4 separate regions of the Homo sapiens genome follow, and regions 1, 2 and 3 are each linked to region 4. The links are contacts of gene promoters, found by promoter capture Hi-C in blood cells and fetal thymus (Javierre and others, 2016). All regions are on one chromosome and are shown on one strand. The core of a region is centred on a gene start or on the middle of the fragment in contact, and the rest is flanking DNA. Distances in the headings are between cores, read along the strand shown. Region 1 overlaps ABCA13 (ATP binding cassette subfamily A member 13). Region 2 overlaps TNS3 (tensin 3). Region 3 overlaps ABCA13 (ATP binding cassette subfamily A member 13). Region 4 holds the start of PKD1L1 (polycystin 1 like 1, transient receptor potential channel interacting).

What was found. The method cuts DNA at HindIII sites, captures the fragments that hold promoters and counts their contacts. A CHiCAGO score of 5 or more calls a contact.
Region 1: a contact is called between a fragment that was not itself captured here and the fragment with the promoter of PKD1L1 in region 4, in 1 of 17 cell types (neutrophils). The highest score is 5.0, in neutrophils.
Region 2: a fragment that was not itself captured here is called in contact with the fragment with the promoter of PKD1L1 in region 4 in 1 of 17 cell types (total B cells); the score reaches 8.0 in total B cells.
Region 3: a contact is called between a fragment that was not itself captured here and the fragment with the promoter of PKD1L1 in region 4, in 1 of 17 cell types (activated CD4 T cells). The highest score is 6.9, in activated CD4 T cells.

The regions. Positions count from the first base shown.
Region 1 is chr7:48,285,180-48,287,879 of GRCh38, forward strand. All of the region lies in intron 19 of ABCA13 (ATP binding cassette subfamily A member 13), which reads left to right. Among named protein-coding and RNA genes, the nearest start is that of ABCA13, 120 kb to the left of the region's middle. The HindIII fragment of the contact is 4,638 bases long and covers 1-2,700 here.
Region 2 is chr7:47,461,626-47,464,325 of GRCh38, forward strand. All of the region lies in intron 4 of TNS3 (tensin 3), which reads right to left. Among named protein-coding and RNA genes, the nearest start is that of SNORD151, 1.8 kb to the right of the region's middle. The HindIII fragment of the contact is 2,328 bases long and covers 287-2,614 here.
Region 3 is chr7:48,235,702-48,238,401 of GRCh38, forward strand. All of the region lies in intron 8 of ABCA13 (ATP binding cassette subfamily A member 13), which reads left to right. Among named protein-coding and RNA genes, the nearest start is that of ABCA13, 66 kb to the left of the region's middle. The HindIII fragment of the contact is 2,152 bases long and covers 204-2,355 here.
Region 4 is chr7:47,947,084-47,949,817 of GRCh38, forward strand. It overlaps PKD1L1 (polycystin 1 like 1, transient receptor potential channel interacting), which reads right to left and starts at 1,383. Exons shown (of 57, transcript NM_138295.5): 1 at 1,314-1,383. The coding sequence starts at 1,357. The HindIII fragment of the contact is 5,981 bases long and covers 1,278-2,734 here.

The DNA of each region.
Region 1 (2,700 bases), core at 166-2,665, 340 kb after region 4:
CAGTCAGAGCCCATTTCCAGTTGAAGAGACCTGAGAGGGTCCATGGGGCTGAAGGGAGGAGAGGAAAGGGGTCCAGAGAGCGCTGGCAGATCTGGAAAGCCAGAGTGGGTCTGAATGTGTCCTTGGAGCCAAGAAGAGGGGCCACAGCAAGTAGGAAGGGCTGGAGCCAGGGATTGGGAGAGGCAATGAGAGGTGGAGAAAGAGGGTACCCGGGAAAGTTGGAGGAGTCAAGGCTCAAAACCAGCTCTTGTTAGTGTCGAGACAGTTGTCAAGTGTCCTTGAGGGTGGTGCCTTTGAGGGCAGGCTTCAAGACGTGTTAGATGTGAGGCACATGGAGGCCAGATGGCCTGACAGCCCAGCACTGCATCCCATGATCATATCATCCCTGACCTAACCTTGCAGGAATGCTGGGCTTGGTCACTGTCGACTCCACGTTGTCATTTTACATTGAGGAAGCAAGGGGCTGACACAGCCCACAGCTTGCCTGATGCCATACATTACATCAGCTTTTTCAGGGTGCATTCTCTGCTCTTTTAGGTTTGAACAACATAACTTATAAACACATTATTGTGTCTTCCCGAGACCAGAGGATATGTTTATGCTTAAAGATAAGTGCTGTGATATATAACAGCACATTATTACCTTCATTTCAAATTTTAATAAGAGATTACTTAAGTGACACATTTTATATTTCCTACAATAAAGATACCTGTCTTTGAAATTAGTAAAATAAGATTAATGAGAAAAGAAAAACAAATAAGGCATCAAGGTGGGTTGCTTCTGGAAAGCATGACTTTGGATATATTGTGTCTACTCTGCATTTTATGTGGTTGAAAACTGTTTTAGTAATTAATAAATTTTATATTTTAGAGTAGTTTTAGATTCGCAGCAACCTTGAATGGAAGGTGCAGGGATTTCCCATATACTCCCTTCCCCACCATAGCCTCCCTCATTATCAGAGTGGCACATTTGTTACAATTGATGAACCCACACTGACACAGCATCATTCCGAGTCCACAGTTCACATTGGGCTTCACTCTTGGTGTTGTCATTCTATGGGTTAGGACAAGCATATAATGACATACATCCAGTGTTACAGTATCACACACAGGGTTTTACTGCCTGAAAAATCCTCTGTGCTCTGCCCATTCATCTCTCCCACCCCTCTAGCCCCTAGCAACCACGGATCTTTTTACTGTCTCCATAGTTTTTGTCTTTTCCAGCACGTCATTGAGTTGAAATCATACAATATGTAGCCTTTTCAGATGGGCTTCTTTCACTTAGTAATATGCTGGAACTGTTTTTTCCCTTCCTTCCTTCCTTCCTTCCTTCCTTCCTTTTTTCAGACAGAGTCTCGCTCTGTCGCCCAGGCTGGAGTGCAGTGGTGCGACCTCAGCTCATTGCAACCTCTACCTCCTGGGTTCAAGCAATTCTCATGCCTCAGCCTCCTGAGTAGCTGGGATTACAGGTGCCCGCCACCATGCCCGGTTAATTTTTGTATTTTTAGTAGAGACGGGGTTTTACCACATTGGCCAGGATGGTCTCGATCTCCTGACCTCGTGATCTGCCCAACACGGCCTCCCAAAGTGCTGGGATTACAGGCGTGAGCCACCGTGCCTGGCTCAGAACTTTTTATAAAGGACTTTTGAGAAACAATTTATTATTCATAATTTAAGAGTCAGGATAACATTTTTTTTTCTAATTAAAAAAAGATTTTATTTCTTATAAAAATGTATTTTATTTTCTGTCATGACCAAGCATCTAGGAGGTACAAAGCCCTGTGCTAGGTGCCACAATGACAGGAAGGCAGTGATAAGAAAATTTGCCCGTGGCAGGTCTTGTGCAGATGGATTTATCGTGCGGTGGGAGGTGAGCACACAGGCATCTGCGCAGCAGGGAGGGGAGGGGCTTTGCTCAGCCTGGGAAAGGTGGGTGTCTGGAGGCAGAACTCTAAAAGATACGTAGGTTCAGGAAGGGAGAGTGATGCCTTGTATCTGATGGCCTTGAGGAGACAGGAGGGACATAGGGCATGACTGCAGAGAGGTGGAGGCACCTGAGGCTGCGGAAAGACATTGGATGCAACATGGAGCCTTTGCACAGATTCCTGTAATGGGGGATCTCCTTTGGGGAAGAGCCTTGTGGATCAGAGCGTAAGGCAGATTGGAAGGGTGAGGTGGGAGTGGGACTGTTAAGAGCACAGCAGTTTCCTGGGCGTGATCTATGGGTGCTGGACAGACGCACAGATGGAGAGACATTGGGAGGTCATGCTGAGCAGATGGGGAGGTTGGTTGGCTGTGAGGACCAGGGGGAGGAGAGTCATGACTGGCTTCCAGGAAGTGACTTGTGAGGCATGGGGCATGGAGAAGACCACACATAGACAGTGTGTAATTCATCCTTCAAACTGGGGCACTTTTGAGAATGACAGAGGGCACTGTTCATAACCATGCAAGAATAGGTGAAAAGCAAGTCTGTCCTGGGCAAACTGGGGTGAATGGGTACCCCACTTGTAGGGGATACAGGGAAAGGAGCCAGTTTGAGGAGGTAGAGATAATTAATATTTACAAAATCAATTAGGCCCAGAAAAGCAAAATCTTTATTTTATTACATTTGGAACTCAAAAGGCACAGCTTTACCCTCATCATCTGAATGTTCATCTTGATGATTTAAGAAATGTTTAGGAATTTGTATCACTTTGAATCT
Region 2 (2,700 bases), core at 201-2,700, 490 kb before region 4:
TCCCGCACTGTGTTTCTTCTGTCAATTCAAAAGCTGACCAAATGACCACTGCGTCTGCTCCCAACCCTGCAAATGCCAGTTGTACCAGTTATTGTAATTGCAGAGCTTAATAAAATACTGCAGAAATCAATGAAATGTGAGCAAAAAAGGATTTGTTACTGCTGCAAACACTGAAGTTTTTGAGAGCCTTGCGTGAGGCAGTCAGTAAAACTCATCAAATTTCTGTAGGGCAGCTGGGGCAGAGTCCAGAGGATTTCTATGCTCCAATTATTCCTAAGTATCTTTAAGCTTTCTTACACTCTGAGGAACCCCAAATGGGAAATTTCAATGACTCATTGTAGATGTACACTATGTAAAAACAGGACAGGGAACCCCAGACCCTGGAGAGAACTCAAAGACAGGGTGGGATGGTACGTCAAAGACAGGTGGCTACTTTTACCGGTTTTCAGACACAATGGAATCCTAAATGAAAGGTTCAGGATTCCGCAAGTTAACTGATACTTCAGTTCAATAATCACTTATAAATTCTGATCCCTTTAAATGACAGATTCTGCCTGGATGTGAAGCCAAATGCATAGTAAGTGACATGCAAGCAGCAATGACCCTCCTCGTTGCCCCTGTATTAATACCAGTAACGATCATTGTCACAGCAAGTTATTCCACATCCACTCTATTCCTGACATAATGCAACATGATTTGCTTGTATTCTCTCTCCATCCTTGTAGCAGCCTGCTGAGCAAGGAACCCTTATCATCCCCACTTTCAAACAGGCATAAGCCACTGCGCCTGGCCGAGGTTATGTGTTGATCAGTTCGTGAAAACACTGTGACTAGAGCTCGCAGGACCCTAACCCTTTATTTCTCCTAGAGACAGAAGCTCAGTGTTGGCTAAATCAGTGTTTGCAGCAACTTTATCGAACATGACTACCACCAATAATGAGAATCTACTGTAATTGATTAGGTATTGACTAGGGTTCCATAGTAAGACAGCCCCATTGTCAGGCTGTCACTTCATCTAGTTCAAACCCAGGACCAGGCTTGCCCACCTGAGGCCATTTGCAGCAAGGGGAGTGCTAGGACACAGGCCAGGTCTGTCTTAGCTTTCACTCCACCACGAGGGACCATCGACTTTTCTACCTCCCTAGAACTCCACAGCCAAGACTAGTTAGCCCTCTGCCCTGATTCCTCCCCGCTGTGCCTCTCTTCTCCCTGCCTCTCCGGTTTGTAAGCAAATTGCCTATCATAGGTTCACAGAAGGCAGCCAGAAAGTGGGCTGGGATCTGTTCTCTCAGATAGTAAAGCTCAGGGAAAGAATCATTAAGTGAAAACCTGACAATGAGGCTGTCCTACAATGGACCCTAATCAATGCCTAATCAATTACAGTTGATTTTCGTTATTGGCAGTAGTTGTGTTCTATAAAGTTGCTGCAAACACTGATTTGACCAACACTGAGCTTCCGTCTCTAGGAGAAATACAGGGTTAGGGTCCTGCGAGCTCTAGTCACAGCATTTTCACCAACCGCTTCAAGGCATAACCTTGGCCGGGTGCAGTGGCTCACACCTGTAATCTCAGCACTTTGAGAGGCCTAGGCAGGTGGATCACCTGAGGTCAGGAGTTCGAGACCAGCCTGGCCAATGTGGTGAAACCCCATCTCTACTAAAAATGTACAAATTGTCGGGAGTGGTTGTGCATGCCTGTAATCCCAGTTACTCAGGAGGCTGGGGCATGAGAATCACTTGAACCCAGGAGGCAGAGGTTGCAGTGAACCGAGATCATGCCACAGCACTCCGGCCTGGGTGACAAAGAGAGACCCTAATTTAATAAATACTGTGGATTCATTAACATGAAACTCTCAGCCATTGGTGCTGTAACTCACACCTGAAGGAAGGACTGTCTAACACATGCGCTTTCTCCACCAGGCACAGGACAGTCATCTTGTGCTTAGGGACACTGGACATCACATCAGCACTACACTTGCATTTTAAACAGCATAATCAACAACAGAAGCACAAAAATGGGGGAAATGTGGCACTAAATAGACTGTGGAAAGGATGCCTGTCTGCAGTATGAGTTGAAACAAGGAAGAGCTTTGCTTTGTTCAGTGTCAGACGGGAACATGCAGGTGGGCAACCCGAATTTTGAGTCTTTTTGTTCATGTCTTCAAATGACCACAAAATTGTCCTTGGTATTGATTTTGGTGTTACAAATAAATTGTATCCAGGAGGCTAATTTGCAAATATGGAATCCACAAGTAATGAAAATCAACTATAATTTAATCTTCAAATTTGTAGATTTAAAATTGCTAGAAACTTGCCAGTTTCTAATTCTAATGCCCCCACTTAATACACCTGTTACTCTAACATTATTAAAAGGGCCGTAATCACAGCCTAGTCCACCCGTAATTTTTATCTACCTGACTCTACTTCTTCATCCCTAGGATGCCTCATGCTGCTACAGAAAGCAAAGCCTTAGAGGAATCCTTCCTCCTGACAAGGAAGCTCCAGGGTGGCAAGTTCAGGCTGCAGATGCCTTCTTCTAAAGACGTGCACTTCTTTTCCAGATTTATGTTCCCTACCTGAGGACCTCTATTGATTTGGCAATGCCTTGCCTTGAGAAGCTTACAGCATTTTCTAGGCAAACACACTGAGGACTCTGGCATCAGAATATTTTCTGGAGCACGTACGACAGAAGCCAATAGTCA
Region 3 (2,700 bases), core at 30-2,529, 290 kb after region 4:
ATTATTCCATCTTCAATGGCTGGGGCTCATGAATTAACCTGATAAAAGACAGATAAAGAAGAGGAAAACCAGTTATTGTGTAGGTATGTATGGGAGTTCACAAAGAGAAATGTGTAGATCTTCCCTGATGACCATTCTGTTTTTCACTTTCAGTATAGTATTCAATAAATTACATGAGATAATAAATACTTTATTATAAAATAAGCTTTGTGTTAGATTATTTTTCCAATTGTAGGCTAATGTATGTGTTCTGAGCACAGTTCAGGTAGGCTAGGTTAAGTTTGGTTATGTTTTGAGGTTGGGTGTACTAAATGTATTCTTGGCTTATGATATTTTCAAGTCATGATGGGTTGATGAGGATGTAACCTCATTGTAGATCAAGGATCACCTGTATTTTAAGGAAGCAGCCAGATTATTAAGGCTTATATGCCATCCAAGGCTATCTATACAAAGGAAAGGGGGCTTGGGGTTTCTGAGTAGCAAGGCAAGTTATGGGAAGGTGAGGGGAGGAAATATATGGTGAATGAGTTATCCTGTTTTGCAGAGAAATCTCCCAGGTGATCAGAGTTATTTGGAGAAGCAGCTCTCTTTTTGGTAGGAGACATCTTTACAGATGAAAATTATCTTAATAATGTAAATTTTCTTTATAAATCTAAATTTCCTTTACCAAAAGGAAATTTATACTCTATTTTTAAACAGTTAGGGAACGGTAAGAAGTTTTTCCTGCCTCTGCTGGTTTTCAGTTTGTCTTTAGCTCAAAATAATCCATATGCCAAAGAAACATACTTTGGGGTGGCGTATTCTGTTTTCTTGCTTTTTCCAGCTTCCAGTGGCCATCCACATTCCTTGGGTCTGAGCCTCTTTCTCAATCATCAAAGCCAGCAATGGCAGGTCTAGTTCTTCTCATATCCCATCACTTGGGCACTGACATTTTTGCCTCCTTTCTCCAATAAAAACCCTTGTGGTTACACTGGGCTCACCAGGTTACCCAGGATAATCGCCCATCTCAAAGCCAGGTGATAAGTAGCCTTAATTTCATCTGCAGCCTTAAATCTCACTTGCCATACAACATAACATATTCATGGGCTCTTGGGATTGGGACATGGACATCTTGGGGGAACATTGCCTGCTTCCCACCCTTCGTAAGTGTAATTGCCTGGTGAGCTCTTCCTGCCCACTGCACAGACAAAACCAATTCATTGAGACTGCAGTATTGCAGTAGAGAAAGGGTTTAATTAATGCAGAGCTAGCCAAGGGAAAAAACTGGAGTTATTACTCAAATCAGCCTCCTTGAGAACTCAGAGGGTAGGGTTTTTTTTTTTTTTTTTTTTTTGGATAATTTGGTGGGCAGGGGACTAGGAAATGAGTTTCGCCGATTGGTTGGGGATGAAATCACAAGGATGTGGAAAAATGCAAAAGTCTGAAAAACGTCTCAAGAGACCAATCTTGGGTTTGACAATAGTGATGTTATCTATAGGAGCAATTGAGGAAGTCACATATCTTGTGATCTTTGGCCCCATGACTCCTGAGCAGCAAGGGATTATAGAAGGCAAGCTAGGGACCAGTGGCTGATTATCATTTAGCTACACCTACATTTTAGCAGCATTCAAGCCACTCTCATAATCTTAATCTTGTGGCCTTTTATTAGTCTTACAAGGGCAGGTTCTGTACCTGAGAAATGAGGGGATTCATCTTAGGGAGGGACTACTATCAACCTTGCTAAAAAGTTAAACTACAAACTAAATTCCTCCCATGGTTAGCTTGGTATATGCCCAGGAGTGAGCAAGGACAGCCAGCCTCTGAGGCTAGAAGCAAGGTGGAGTCAGCCATGCTAGACTTCTCTCACTCTCATAATCTGCAAAGGTGGTTTCACAGGGCCCTTTCCATCTGCATCAGCCTGTGAGCCTAGGCCCTCCCTGGGGTCTGTCTGACTCCTGACCCTGTCACTCTCTGGGCCTGCTGGGGGCCTCAGCACATGCTGCCCCTGCAAGAGAATAGTCCTCCTCTTTCCCTGCCTCTGCCTCCTGAATTGGAAAATGATTTATCTAACCTCACATCCTCTGTGGATCTCCTGTGACCTCACTTCAGCCTCTGCCTCTACTTCTTCAACCTTCTATAATAGGGCATGTCCCAGGGAGCCTGATGGCTGCATATCTGCCTCTCATAGGCTGTGAGCATCTGAGTGGGGACTTGGCCTTATCTATCTAACATGATACATGGTATTGTTGATTATTTTTAATTAAGGGAAAAAAATAGAACAAAACATCAGGGACCCTGTGCTTTGACAGTCACAGGTTAATATTTTAAATCCTGATCCAAAAGGAACCTAAAAGTGAACACATGGGACTAAAATTAAGCTTTCTGACTATTGTCATTGTTTAGTCAATTCAGGCTGTTATAACAAAAGACCACAGACTTGTAAACAACAGAAATTTATCTTGGTGTGTCCTCACGTGGTAGAAGGGGTAAGGGAACTCCCTGGGTCTCTTTTATCAGGGTGCTAATCCCATTCACAAGTGTTCACCCTCATGATCTGACCAGCTCCCCAGGGCCCCATCTCCTTATACCATCACCTTGGGGGCTAGGATTTCAAAATACGAATTTTGGCGGGGAGGCCACAAGCATTTAGACCATGGCAGTCACCAACAGAATCTCTTAAAGATGGCATTATAATTGTTGTAAAATGATGTAATAGGGGAA
Region 4 (2,734 bases), core at 133-2,632:
AATAAGGGAAAAAATTGTAGCCAAAATCAGACAATGCTTGGCAGCAGTGAGTGACATAAGGCAAAGAAATTTCCAAGCATGAATGTGACCAACCCCGTCAACACGTGCAGCCTCATTTTCTCATCCTGGTTTGCTTTGGGTTTCTTTGATAAAATGATGGTGATGGCACAAAGACAGTAAGCTAACAAAGGCAGAAATGCTGACAGCAAGCATTCATCAAGGATACTGATTTTTATAACGACCCTCTGGAGTTTACAGATGTGACAACAGGGGTACTCAGATTTTCAGGATGAGAAATCTGGGGGTGAGGAGGTAAAGTGACCTGCAGTGGCGGGGTACCCCACTGGGCAAGATCTGCAGGCACAGGCTCCCATCATGCCAGGCCAGGGGACAGCGGTGACCCACCTGGGTCCTTACCACATCCCACAGGCAGGTCACCTTGCTGGCCTCACGCCCAGGAAAGGGGGCATGGAGGTTTGCACCATGTCACACTGCCATGAGACAGTCAACAGCAGAGCACACAGGCTGCCCAGCCTCAACAACACATGGGTGCTGGCGCGCACAGAGCATGGGGAAGAGGGTTTAGAAATAAGACCCATGGAGGCTGGGTGCGGTGGCTTATGCCTGTAATCCCAGTACTTTGGGAGGCCAAGGCGGGCAGATCACAAGGTCAGGAGATCGAGACCATCCTGGCTAACACAGTGAAACCCCGTCTCTACTAAAAATACAAAAAATTAGTCGGGCGTGGTGGTGGGCGCCTGTGGTCCCAGCTACTTGGGAGGCTGAGGCAGGATAAATGGCATGAACCCAGGAGGCAGAGCTTGCAGTGAGCCAAGATCGCACCTCTGCACTCGAGCCTGGGCAACAGAGAGAGACTCCGTCTCAAAAAAAAAGAAATAAGACCCCTGGGCCAAGACCCCATGATCTCTTCCTGTGCCAGGTTTCTCCTGGTCTCCATGCAAGGGACCTAGCAGACAAGCAGATAGCTTAACTTTGTCTACTACCAGGCAGCAGAAAGTCCTCGAACTTGGAAGGTATCCTGCATTTGCAGGAAGAGCAATCAGCACTTCTCATGGCTGAAGGCATCCGCTTGGAGGAGTCTTCTCAAAAGCCTTCAGGAAAAAACTCCATTCTCAACACCAACTCCAACCTCTGAACTGACCCCGCCGGCCAAATGCACCCTCCTGGTACAGGGCCTCCACTCGTGCCAGAGTGAGCCCACATCCTAGAGGTGATGACTTTTGAAAGAAAATTTCTGAATGCATACTTTAAAATCAAGCTTACCAAACCCTCTGAGAACAGTGATAACTCACCTTTCCTGGTCATCAGAAATGTTCTGGGCTGCCTCCTCGGCCATGTCCTGTGCAAGCTGGTCACAAGTATGACAGTCAGCAGACCAGCTTCTTCCTACATCCTCTGGAAGACAAAGAAATAGAGCTTAATGCTTCCAGCTTCTGTACTTGTGACCTCTTATCAGGACACACATCAAACACAGAGGGAAAAATCCAAACTCCAGTAACATTTTCCCAAGCAGAAACAGCTTTTGTTTTCCTAACACTGTCAGACAAATTCCTTCCTAAGAAGTGTGCTTTTGACAGACGTGGTGGCTCATGTCTGTAATCCCAGCAATTTGGGAGGCCAAGGTGGGTGGATCACTTGAGGCCAGAAGTTTGAGACCAGCCTGGCCAATATGGTGAAACCCCGTCTCTACTAAAAATACAAAAATAGCCAAGTGTGGTGGCACACATCTGTAATCCCAGTTACCCAGGAGGCTCAGGCGAGAGAATTGCTTGAACCTAGGAGGTGGAGGTTGCAGTGAGACGAGATTGCACCACTGTGCAATAGAGTGAGACTCTGCCTCAAAAACAAAATGAAACAAAACAAAACAAAACAAAAGTGTGTTTTAGGTAGGGATCTTTGTGGCTGCCTGAAACAGATCACTACTCAAGGGAGAGACTGTACATGGAAGCTGAGAGAAGTCTGAGAATAAAAAGCTGTAACTGTTGGCTGGGCGCGGTGGCTCACGCCTATAATCCCAACACTTTGGGAGGTCGAGGTGGGCGGATCACGAGGTCAGGAGCTCGAGACCAGCCTGGCCAGCATAGTGAAACCCCGTCTCTACTAAAAATACAAAAATTAGCCAGGCATGGTGGCACGCACCTGTAGTCCCAGCTACTCGGGAGGCTGAGGCAGGAGAATTGCTCGAAACCGAGAGGCGGAGGTTGCAGTGAGCCGAGATCGTGCCACCACACTCCAGCCTGGGCAACAGAGCGAGGCTCTGTCTCAAAAAAAAAAAAAAAAAAAAAAAGCTGTAACTGTCCACAACTGCACTGGGGAACAGGATACCTTCCACAAGAGCAGAAGAGCATTCCTAAGGAAGGCTGGCAAGGCACACACTAGGCGCACTCTGTCTTACGGCAGAACCTAGGAATGATCTGGTTCCGAACCTCCTGCACCTCTCCTTGTTTGCAACTGGCGGGTCAGACTGAGTTCTCTCCATTACGAAACATTTTCTCTTATATTTTTAAAGCACTTGTTAGTTGTCTTAGTTCTTTATACCAACATTTAAACCTTCAGAGATTTTAGAAAACTTAATGTTTTACTCAGAACACTAGATATTTTTTCTCTCCACTCTGAAGAGAGTGATACCAAGAAGAGTGGGAACGTTTTCAGGCACAAGCTCTTTCTCAGATGGGAACACAGACCCCTTGAACAATGATGAACCAAGCTACGG